4 separate regions of the Homo sapiens genome follow, and regions 1, 3 and 4 are each linked to region 2. The links are contacts of gene promoters, found by promoter capture Hi-C in blood cells and fetal thymus (Javierre and others, 2016). All regions are on one chromosome and are shown on one strand. Each heading gives the region's core, a stretch centred on a gene start or on the middle of the fragment in contact. The rest is flanking DNA. Distances are from core to core; before and after follow the strand shown.

Region 1 (2,700 bases), core at 123-2,622, 84 kb before region 2:
TAGTATAGAAGTACAAGAGTTTATTTCTGGATGAGGAATCTTTGCACTAATGTTCTTCAATCATATATAAGGCTGCCCATGGGAAGAAGGGAGAGAATGAGACTTTATTGTCCTCAACCTAATCAAAGGAAAAGAGATCAAATGCTCTACTTCCTCTTGCTTTTGCTCAACCCTAATACCTTGATTCCCCAGATACAGCCCATTCAGTGTTCATCTTGTCCTTGCTCCTAACACCTAGAACCAATAAAACTGTCACTAGGCAAGCTAATTCCTATAACATCAGAGAGACTCCCAACAGAGAAGAAGAAAGGCTGGGCCACCTAAATCTCCCTGGATAAATGCTTGGAGTTTTAGATAGAACTTGGAGCTGTGGAGTCTCCCACGTCTAATTTCCTCTCCCCATTTTTTTCCAGCAATTTCCAATCACATGCTTATCTACTCACAACTTTAAAAAATCAGAGGGCTATATGATTCCTACTACATGACATTCTAGAAAAAGTGAAACTACAGAGACAGTACAAAGATCAGTGGTTACCGGGGGTTCAGAAGGGTGGGATGAATAGGTGGAGATTTTTATGGCAGTGAGACTATTCCATATGGTATTGTTATAGTAGATACATATTATTATACATTTGCGAAACCCCACAGAATGTATAGGCAGTGAACACTAATGAAAATTATGGCCTTTAGTTAATAATAATGTATTAATATTTGGTTCAACAATTGTAACAAATATAGCACACTGATGCAAGATGTTAACAATAAAGGAAATTGTGAGTAGGGGTGGAGTGAGGAGGTATACGGGAACTCTACTCTGCACTCAATTTTTCTATACGCTTACTGCTGCTCTAAAAAATAAAGTCTATTAATTTTTTTAAATAGAGGAAACACTGGCGAATAATCCCCACCAGTACCACGGCTAATAAGAGCCAAGATAAGCTGTATAAAAAGGACATAAAAATGTAAAAAATTAGACTGTAGGGCTTGATCTCAAACAGTAACTAAAGGACAATAACTAAAGACAGGAAAGAAGCTTGAGGAAGTGAAGGAAAGACAACCTCATAGTGGCATTTTATAGTGACTAGTGTGCAAACAACTAAAACAAATTTATTTCCCTCACAGAAAGAGAACAGAAGCCAAGACACTTAAAAGGGACACTGAGTTTCTCAGCAGAAAAATCACCACCATTAAGCCTCTGGCATACTTACGAGTATCACCCTGATGCCTCTCCCTGTGGCTAAGGAATCAGAGCTTGTCATTGTAACCAAATCAGCAACCTGTGCTGGTGCCAATCTTTATAGTGGATTGAGCTATTTTTCAGGAAAAGCAAGGGATAATTGCCCAGTATCAAAAGAAGATCTGACCCTTGGGAGGAGAAAGGAGGTGTTCCTTTTGCCACAGGATGATTCTCTCTGGAATAACATAAATGGCTCTTTGAGAGACCATGTCTTTGATAAGCAGCGGTGCAACTCTGACAGCCAATCTGCTGAATGTCGAACAGAGCACTCAGCTTTCTACAATGACTCAAAGGACACAGCAAGGCTGCAGATTTATTCTGCTGACTTTCCCCGCACAGCCACTCAAGTTTTTCAAAGGCAAAAAGGAACAACTCTTTCCTTTCAATCCAGGGAATTGCAAATTCCACTGGGATTTAAAGACAGAGCTATGTTTGCTCAAAATCTGACATCGCTGATGTGAACAACAAGATTTAAAAGCTTGGAATGATGGCTGGCAATTTTAGCAGTTAGAGCAGAAGTTGGTTCGGCACTTCAATCTGCCAGCAGAATCAGCAGTCACACAGGGCACATGGTGTGCCAGACTGGGAATGAGCTAATTTCACAAAATTCATTCTCATTCTCTTTGTACTTTCACATGACAATTGCAAACAGTCCACATTCTTACCAAAGCACAAATACAAAGGTAGCATATTTCACTGCACAAAGAAATTTCGAAGTAAAAACACAAAGGCACTGTTACAAAGAGATAAACCTCAAAGCTTCTATCTTTTCTCCATGATGCTTTCCTTCTTGAAATCCTATCCTTAACATGATAATTTTGAGACAAAACTTTAAAAAGCAACATCTCCCTACAATAAACTATTAAAACTATTTCTTCTTCACAATTTGTATGTCAATTCTTCAAGATGAGATTTTGAAACAGAAAACCATTCTACACATTCTACCTCAAAAGTAACATCCACATGCTACGATTTAAAGGACAAGCTCTCTGTGGTTAAATAGATTCAACCCCCAACAGACAAAAGAAAACTAGGCTTGACAGTTAAGATACCCAATTTCTGTTTAAAACATGTGTTGTTATCTTATGATAGCAAACAAAGAAAAAAAACCCTCAAATTTGGGGGTGATGAGTTCTATTGTGATTTTAAAAAACATGTATTATTGTACTAAGTACACTAGTACAATAGGTACTGAAGCAAAGTGATTAGTAATAGCAAAACAGCACAGAAAATTATAAGCAGAAAATCAGAATAACATTTTCCCCCAAACTAAATACATAACCTTTTCACAAAAATTAATGGAAAGAGGACAAAAATAAAGATATTTTGCTTTATAAATAATATTGGCAAACACTATACTTTATGTGTTAAGTTTTTAGACATAACCAAAGGCCTGACATTTAACCAAATGTCGACTAGCACTGTAATTCTTTCAGAAAGGTTTATCATTTGGTTATAAAGAC
Region 2 (2,700 bases), core at 184-2,683:
TTTTTGCCCAGGCTATTGTGGAACTCCTGGCATCAAAAGATCTTCCCACCTTGGCCTCCCAGTGTTGGGATTACAGGTGTGAGCCACCACACCCAGCCTTAATTACTTTTAAGTTAATGGATGTCTTCAACTCTTGTCCTATCTAGAACTCTGATTTTTGCCTATATGTAACTCTAACCCAATTTTGCTGCCGTACTATTCAGGTTTTCTTGGGTCAAAATCCAATAGTTCTTTAAGGCTTTTAGAAAAAGAAGGGGTGGTTCTTTTCTAAGGGAATTATACCTTATTATCTTCTTTGTAAAATGCAGCTCTTAGGGGGATTAAGTATGTTCATTTACAAATTAACATACATAAAGAGTTTAATGTGGTGCTGGCATATAATAAACCCACAACAAGGGGTGGCAATTAAGTGATCCCACCATTGGCTATCTAACCATGGCAACTCTGCAATTGTTAGCCTACAACTTGGGCAAAGGCACTATCCAGAATCAGGACTCCAAAATCATCACGGGCTTTTTCCTCAGTGTAGATGAGTCACAGGGGTAGTAACTTAACTATTCCTTTCCTTAAACCTTCTTTTCCTTGTAACAGCAGAATCTGGGGAGGTTAATTAATCCTTCACAGGAAAGCTGGCAGGCAGGGTCTCATGCTGGCCCCACTAGCTTGGCCTTACCCCACCTTTCTGGGCCTGCTGCCTCAACAGAAACCCTCATCTCTAGCCCACCATTTGTGACTTTTACAACTTCACCAGCGTGCCGGGATGCGAGAAAGGTACTGGTAAATAACTAGTGATTCCAAAGCAACCAGCCTCTCTCTTCTGCCTTAGCTATCCCAAGCCACAACCTAACGGGAGGCGATGTTTTGGCTTTTTTTCCCACTTCTACCATGTTCAAGGTTTACTTTTTAAATTGAGGGGTGCTGACTAGAGGGATTGGTGACTTTAGACGATCCACTATCTCCATTGCTCGGAGCACCTGAGGTTCTGGGGCCTAAAGTCTGGAGATTTCAGAATAAAGAAGGCACAAGTCAGGATGAGAAGAGAAAGCAGAGATAGGAGGGGAGAGCCTGGGGGTTGTCACAATCTGAAAGGGCCAGAGGGCGAGAAAAGAGTGTTTGCAGGGACTGGGTGGAACAGGTGAAAAGCAGCACTCCAGGATCTAACTTTGGCCAGCTCCAAGGTATCCTCCCCCTGCGAGACATCCAAGATGGCGCCAGGCCCGCGCGGTTGGAGGTCACCGGCACGCGGAAGAGCCAACTCTAAGGCTAAGGGATAGCGGAAGCAAGAAAGGGCGAGAGGACCAGGGTGGGAGCACGCAAGGTAAGCGCCTCAAAGCATCCGCGCAAGGTGAGGTGTCCCGCGCGCGTGCGCAGCGCACAGAGGGCTCTAGGTCCCAAGGCCTTACCTGCTCCCACTGCAGAGAAGACAGAGAGGGGCGGAGCAGCGGGAAGAGCGAAAGGAAGGCTCAGCGCATGCGTGACCCGGGCCAACGAGTCGCTCAGCCACGGATAGAGTGATTGCAACATACAGGATCAGCTCAGGCATCACAGCGCCGCCTGCCAGGGCTGTGGCGGTATCCGGCCGGTTGCTCCACCTGGCGTTCGAGAGGAGAAACTACAGGGAGCGCCGACTGCAGAAATGAGGCCAACTCCGCGGAGTAAGCCGATCCGTAACGTGGACTGCGGTTTGGTCTGTACCGCGTTTGGGATCTCGGACTTGCGTCCCCTTTCCGAGCATGCGCAGTCGTCACACTGCCAAAACAAAACTCCTACTCAGAATTCAGTGTTAACATACGGTCGGGATTGGGGTTCAGTGCCTAAAATGCAGCAGGAGGAAGATCTTGGGAGTCCTGCTTTCTGTCGCGCCGGGACTCTGGCATCACTGGATGGCAAACCGGCTCCATGGGCGAATAGTCAGCAAAATGCCGCAGCTGCTTCTGGTGGCTTCGCCCTTTCCCCCACTCCCCGTTTCCTCCTTTCCATTCCGGTGATAAACCATGAGAGAAGCAGCATCAGCGAGCCAGAAGATAGGGTTAAATATGATCCGAATCCCTCTTTCCTGGCTCCTGGGACAGTCTAGGAATAACGGGCACCTGCGACCCGCTGTAAGGTTGCGAGGTCACTCCAGGCTTGCCCGAGCCTCTGCTCAGGTTTCAACTACGCGAGTTGGGATAAGCAGCGCCCTCCCCTCCCGCCCCCATGCTCTCCTGAACGTGGGTTTTCTCTCCCCTTTCGCTCGCCCTTCCCCTGATGGAAGGAGGTGGGGGAGGCTTCCTGGCCCTCATCTTTCCTAGGCCTCCTTGTCTCCCAGACAGGACCTGCCCTGCCCTTTGGAACAGGGCGACAAGGCCTATCCAGTTCCAAACCCCTGCCGTCCCTGCATCGTGCTTGAACGCAGCACGAGAAAGACGGGAAAAGCTCACCAAACCCCATAAAAAATAAAAAATAAAAAGAAAGCCGCGGCTGTAAATAAAGGCAAATCCGCCACTCTCTGAGGGGCCGTTTGTCCTCCCCTCCTTGGCCCCGTCCTTCCCGCCGCCCCCTCCCGGCTCCCGGGCCCCGCGGCGCCCCGGCCCCGAGCTCCTCCATTTAATCGGATTTGGGAGAAGGGGAGGATAAATCACGGCAGCAGCTTTACGGTCCCGGAGGAGAGGCGAGCCGCAGACAGGCACACCCCGGCCGGCGATAAAAACCGCCGCTGAA
Region 3 (2,767 bases), core at 70-2,569, 120 kb before region 2:
GAGAAGAGGAGATGGGGAAGACCACAACACCAACTGCTCTGTAATATCAGGTCCAAACAACAGAAGTGGACAGATTGTTGGTAAAGTGGGGTCCAAGTAGGAGGCTCCAAATGAAAAAAACATTAAGGCAAACTCGTATTGAACAAGGGGAAGCAATTTTTAATAATAATAATAGAGAAGGGAAGGGCTGGGCACTAGTTGGCCATCACAAAAATAGGAAATTGAGAATGAAGCCCTCCATGGTAGGGCTGAATTGGACTCTTTTATGAGGGCGCTAACAGGGAGATAAATTATGCAGGATTAGGAGAACCATTTAACTTCTTGGCCCCTACAGTGCTGCAGCAGGCGCCTGCATGGCTATTTGGCTCAGAGTTTTAATGAGCCAGGATGGAGCTGTAGAGGACCAAGGCGCAATGGCCAGCAATAATGGCACATACCAGCCCCATCGGCCAAATGCTGTCTCCCCTCATCGGGCAGCCCGCCTGGGCTCCATCAGCCATAAAAAGGCCAGTACAATGCTGATGACTATATAATGGTAGAATAAAAATGCCAGGAAAAAATATTTTTTTAGGGGTAGGGAGGAGCCTGTAGGCAGGATGAGGGAAGAGAAAGGGAGATGGTATAGAGATTTTATTTTTTTGGGATTTGGGTGAAAGGACAATGAAGAAAAGTGGGCTAACTCTATCCAGTTTATGATTAAGTAAAATAGGGTTACTGGACAATAATTTATGCTCCTACCCCTTCTTAAAAGGGGGAGAGTGAAGGGAACAGATGAACAGCAGTAATTCAAAAGAATAATATTCTCAAAAGTCCCTTTGAGGCTCCTGGCCATATTCCTTCATTAAAACATGACTGCAACACAGTAACAGCCCGGATGCTGCAGTTTTCCACAGCTCCTTCACACTGAGGCTCTGAAACATGGTTCCGTTTGTCTTTTTGCTTCTAAAAATGGTGATTGGTTAGTCGTCTCTTTTTACTTTCTTCATCACGTGTATACTTCTCACCAAATACTATACGTTTAGCCTTCTTTTCCAAAGCTCTTCTTGACTGCAAACAAAATACACGGGAGTTGGCCCCATCCAGCTCCTACCTGTCAGGAAAGCAATACCAAACTGTTTCTACTACTTTATTTTACCTGAATTTACAACTAAAGCCAATTTAAGATCCAAAATCCCAGGCTGGTCGCGATGGCTCATGCCTGTAATTGCAGCACTTTGGGAGGCTGAGGTGGACAGATTGCTTGAGGCCAGGAGTTCAAGACCAGACTGGGTAATCTGGCAAAAACCCATTTCTATACAAAAATGTTTTATTTTTATTTATTTATTTATCTTTGAGACGGAGTCTTGCTCTGTCGCCCAGGCTGGAGTGCAGTGGCGCAATCTCCGCTCACTGCAACCTCTGCTGCCCATGTTCAAGCAATTCTCCTGTCTCAGCCTCCTGAGTAGCTGGGACTACAGGCGCATGCCACCATGCCCGGCTAATTTTTGTATTTTTAGTAGAGATGGGGTTTCACCATATTGGTCAGGGTGGTCTTGAACTCCTGACCTCAGGTGATCCACTCACCTTGGCCTCCCAAAGTGCTGGTATTACAGGCATGAGCCACCATGCCCAGCAACAGAAAACTTTTAAATTAGCTGGGTGTGGTGATGCTCACCTGTAGTTCCAGCTACTCAGGAGGCTGAGGTGGGGGGAGCCCAGGAGGTTGAGGCTGTAGTGAGCCATGATTACACCACTGTACTCCAGTGAGACCCTTTCTCAAAAAAGGGCCAGGTGCGGTGGCTGATGCCTGTAATCCCAGCACTTTGGGAGGCCTAGGTGGGTGGATCACTTAAGGTAAGGAGTTCGAGGCCAGCATGACCAACATGGCAAAACCCCATCTCTACAAAAAACACAAAAATTAGCTGGGCATGGTGGCGGGTGCTTGTAATCCTACCTACTTGGGAGACTGAGGCACGAGAATTGCTTGAACCCGGGAGGTGGAGTTTGCAGTGAGCCGAGATCCCACCACTAAGCTCCAGCCTGGGTGACAGAGGAAGACCTTGTCTCAAAAAAAGAAAAAAAAAAAAAAAAAAAAAAAAGACAGCCTCAGTGGTTTCTGATTGATCTAGGACAAAAACTGAATAAAATGTGGAAAAATTTAACCAAGAACTTTAGTTTTCTCTATTGTTGGTAAACTCCAGGCACCATCTTTTTCAGTTACAGATGTTTCCGTAAGAAAAAAGTGGCCGGGAGTGGTGGCTCATGCTTGTAATCCCAGCACTGGGAGGCTGAGGCAGGTGGATCACCTGAGGTCAGGAGTTCGAGACCAGACTGGCCAACATGATGAAACCCCATCTCTACTAAAAATACAGAATTAGCCGGGCATGGTGGCACATGCCTATACTCCTAGCTACTCGGGGGGCTGGGGCTGAGGCAGGAGAATCGCTTGAACCAGGTAGACGGAGGTTGCAGTGAGCCGAGATTGCGCCATTGCACTCCAGCCTGGGCAACAACAGTGAAACTCCATCTCAAAAAAAAAAAAAGAGTGAGGGTTTGGGGGAAGGAGGGAATAGTGTATTAACCAGGGGTATGATATTTGTAGGTTAAACAAGTCACTGTAGAGGGTCTGGGATTGCCAGGTATTTGGTAAGAGGAAATAAGCAGAACCTAGTTTATAAAGAAGAAAATAATATAATTTTTTTTTTTTTTTTTTTTTTTTTTTTGTGAGACGGAGTCTCGCTCTGTTGCCCAGGCTGGAGTGCAGTGGTGCAATGGCACGATCTCAGCT
Region 4 (2,700 bases), core at 175-2,674, 100 kb before region 2:
AATTTTTGATTACGGTCTAAAATGATAACAAATTGTTCCAATTATATAGAACCTGCCACTCCATTATATCATAATGTAGACAAACCAGGAAGTGCTAATGGGATCCTATTAACCTTCATATCACATTACAACAGCCTAGGGGAAGAGAGGAGAGAAAGGAAAATACAAAGGCCATTAAAAATACTGATGGGTGTCAGGCAGGGGCTAAGAGGTTGGAACTTCCAGTCCTCACCTCTAGGTAACAACTCACTACAGTATAGCAAATGCAGATTTCAACCATAGTATAGTAGGCCGGTAATGCCTCCAGTATAGACCTGTCCTGCCAAAATACAACATACCAGGTGGCTTAAACAGAACTTTATTATCTCTCAGTTCTGGAGGCCAGAGGTGTTACCAGGGTTGGTTTCTTCTGAAGGATGTCAGCAAGAATGTGTTTCATGTCTCTCCTAGCTTCTGGCTTGCTGGCAGTCTTTGGCATTCCTTGACTTGTGGCAGCATAAATCCAACCTTCACATAGTGTTCTCCTGTGTGCGTGTGTGTGTGTGTGTGTGTGTGTGTGTGTGTGTGTGTGTATGTCCAATTTCCTCTTTTTATAGGACACCAGTCATATTGGAGTAGGGGCCCACCTTACTTCAGTATGACCTCATATTAACTAATGCCATCTGCAATGACCCTGTTTCCAAATAAGGTCACATTTTAAGGTACCTGGGGTTAAGACTTCACCATAAAAATTCAATTCAATCCATAACAGCTCACAAAGATATATCAATGTTCTAATTCTTAGAAGCTGTGAATGTTACCTTATATGGTGATTAAATTAAGGGCTTTGAGATGAGGGGATTATCCAGATGGGCCCTCAATGCTATCACAAGCGTCCTTCTAAGACAGCAGCAAAGGGAGATTAGAAACACACAGAGAGGAGAGGGCAATGTGAAGAAAGACATAGAGATTGAAGTGATGTAACCACAAGCCAAGAAATGCCGGCAGCAACTAGAAGCTGGAAGAGGCAAGGAAAGGATTCTCCTGGAGAGCCTTCTCAGGAGGATACGGTCCTCTTTAATATCTTGGTGGGCTTTTGGTCTCCCAAACTGTGAGATAATAAATTTCTTTTCTTTCAAGCCACCTAGTTTGTGGTAATTTGTTATAACGCCTACAGGAAACTAATATACATATTATCTTTTCATAATTTAAACATAATTATCTCCATTCTAAGAGCAGCAGAGGAGCAGGCAGATAACAGACAATAGGTGACAAACTCCAAGCAATTATACCCATAACCACAAACCACTGTAACCAGCATTTTTTTAAAAGGGAAAGCCAGGCACAGTGGTGTGCACCTGTAGTCCCAGCTACTCAGAAGACTGAGAAGGGAGGATCATTTGAGCCCACAAGTTTGAGTCCAGCCTGGGCAACACAGTGAGACTCCATCTCTTTAAAAAAAAAAAAAAAGGGAGCAGGGAGACAAATCCGCACTGAAATATCACCACCACAACAAAAGAAACTACAGAGTACATCACACTAGATAAGGGTGAATACTATTACATGGCTCTCTAATTTCTATTATATAAAAAATGTGTTTTGGTTGGGCACGGTGGCTCACGCCTGTAATCCCAGCACTTTGGGAGGCTGAGGCAGCCAGATCACCTGAAGTCAGGAGTTAAAAACCAGCCTGGCCAACATGGCGAAACCCGGTCTCTACTAAACATACAAAAATTAGCTGGGTGTGGTGGCGCACACCTGTAATCACAGACACTCGGCAGGCCGAGGCAGGAGAATCGCTTGAACCTGAGAGACGGAGGTTGCAGTGAGCCGAGACAGTGCCACTGCACTCCAGCCTGGGATACAGAGCCAGACTCCATCTCAAAAAAAAAAAAGAAAAAGTGTTTTAAGTTGCAATGTAAAATGTATTTCTTACTCGATTCATAAACCAAAAGGACTGAGACTTCTGGTTTTTGGCTTGGCATATAAAGAGCTTAGAATAACAGTTGTCACTCTATCCTAACAACAAATAAAAAGCTGAACTGAAAAATCTTAACAACTCTTCATAGATCTATCAGAGAAGTGAGTTCACAGGGCAAACTGCTGTTCCCCAAATTGGCAGATATAGAGAATCACAACCTAAAGGAGCAGAAACCCATGAGCTGAAACCTGCATGACAATCAAGTGCCAGGGGAGGAAAACCTGAACTATAATTGATGAAGCTAGAGGCCAAGTGTGGACAAGTCTGAGAGTTAAAAATGCCAGGGAGACCCAGTCACAGAGGAGCCCCCACACCGTTGTGAGATTTACCTCCAGGTTCTCCCAGCTCTACTAGGTTCTTACGGTGAATATCAGGGGAAATTTCTTGTGCTTTTGGCGGGGGGAAAGGGAAAAGTACAGTAGCCTCCCCTTACCCGTGGTTTCACTTTCCATGGTTTCAGTTACCCATAGTCAACTGCAGTTCAAAAATAGATGAGTACTGGTCGAGTAAGGTGGCTCACACCTATAATTCCAGCATTTTGGGAGGCTGACGTGGGAGGACCGCTTGAGCCCAGGAGTTCGAGACTAGCCTGGGTGATAGAGTGAGACCCTGCCTCTATTTAATTTTTTTTTTTTTTTTGAGAGAGAATCTCACTCTGTCACCCAGGCTGGAGTGCAGTGGCACAATCTCAGCTCACTGCAACCTCCGCCTCCTGGGTTCAAGCAATTCTTGTGCCTCAG

What was found. Contacts are between HindIII fragments. The CHiCAGO score rates a contact against its expected background, and 5 or more counts as called.
Region 1: a contact is called between a fragment that was not itself captured here and the fragment with the promoter of ATP5MC2 in region 2, in 3 of 17 cell types (endothelial precursors, megakaryocytes and erythroblasts). The highest score is 7.9, in endothelial precursors.
Region 3: a contact is called between a fragment that was not itself captured here and the fragment with the promoter of ATP5MC2 in region 2, in 16 of 17 cell types (endothelial precursors, megakaryocytes, naive CD4 T cells and 13 more). The highest score is 17.4, in endothelial precursors.
Region 4: a contact is called between a fragment that was not itself captured here and the fragment with the promoter of ATP5MC2 in region 2, in 6 of 17 cell types (megakaryocytes, endothelial precursors, erythroblasts and 3 more). The highest score is 10.5, in megakaryocytes.

Annotation. Positions count from the first base shown.
Region 1 is chr12:53,590,335-53,593,034 of GRCh38, forward strand. The region is part of intron 2 of ATF7-NPFF (ATF7-NPFF readthrough); the gene reads right to left. All of the region lies in intron 2 of ATF7 (activating transcription factor 7), which reads right to left. Among named protein-coding and RNA genes, the nearest start is that of ATF7, 35 kb to the right of the region's middle. The HindIII fragment of the contact is 682 bases long and covers 1,032-1,713 here.
Region 2 is chr12:53,674,650-53,677,349 of GRCh38, forward strand. ATP5MC2 (ATP synthase membrane subunit c locus 2) reads right to left here and starts at 1,434. Exons shown (of 5, transcript NM_005176.7): 1 at 1,404-1,434. RefSeq lists enhancers at 1,136-1,585, 1,696-1,925. The HindIII fragment of the contact is 5,549 bases long and covers 1-2,700 here.
Region 3 is chr12:53,552,817-53,555,583 of GRCh38, forward strand. The region is part of intron 2 of ATF7-NPFF (ATF7-NPFF readthrough); the gene reads right to left. All of the region lies in intron 2 of ATF7 (activating transcription factor 7), which reads right to left. The region is part of intron 2 of LOC124902937 (a long non-coding RNA gene); the gene reads left to right. Among named protein-coding and RNA genes, the nearest start is that of ATF7-AS1, 40 kb to the left of the region's middle. The HindIII fragment of the contact is 4,672 bases long and covers 1-2,767 here.
Region 4 is chr12:53,570,205-53,572,904 of GRCh38, forward strand. The region is part of intron 2 of ATF7-NPFF (ATF7-NPFF readthrough); the gene reads right to left. The region is part of intron 2 of ATF7 (activating transcription factor 7); the gene reads right to left. The region is part of intron 2 of LOC124902937 (a long non-coding RNA gene); the gene reads left to right. Among named protein-coding and RNA genes, the nearest start is that of ATF7, 55 kb to the right of the region's middle. The HindIII fragment of the contact is 6,274 bases long and covers 1-2,700 here.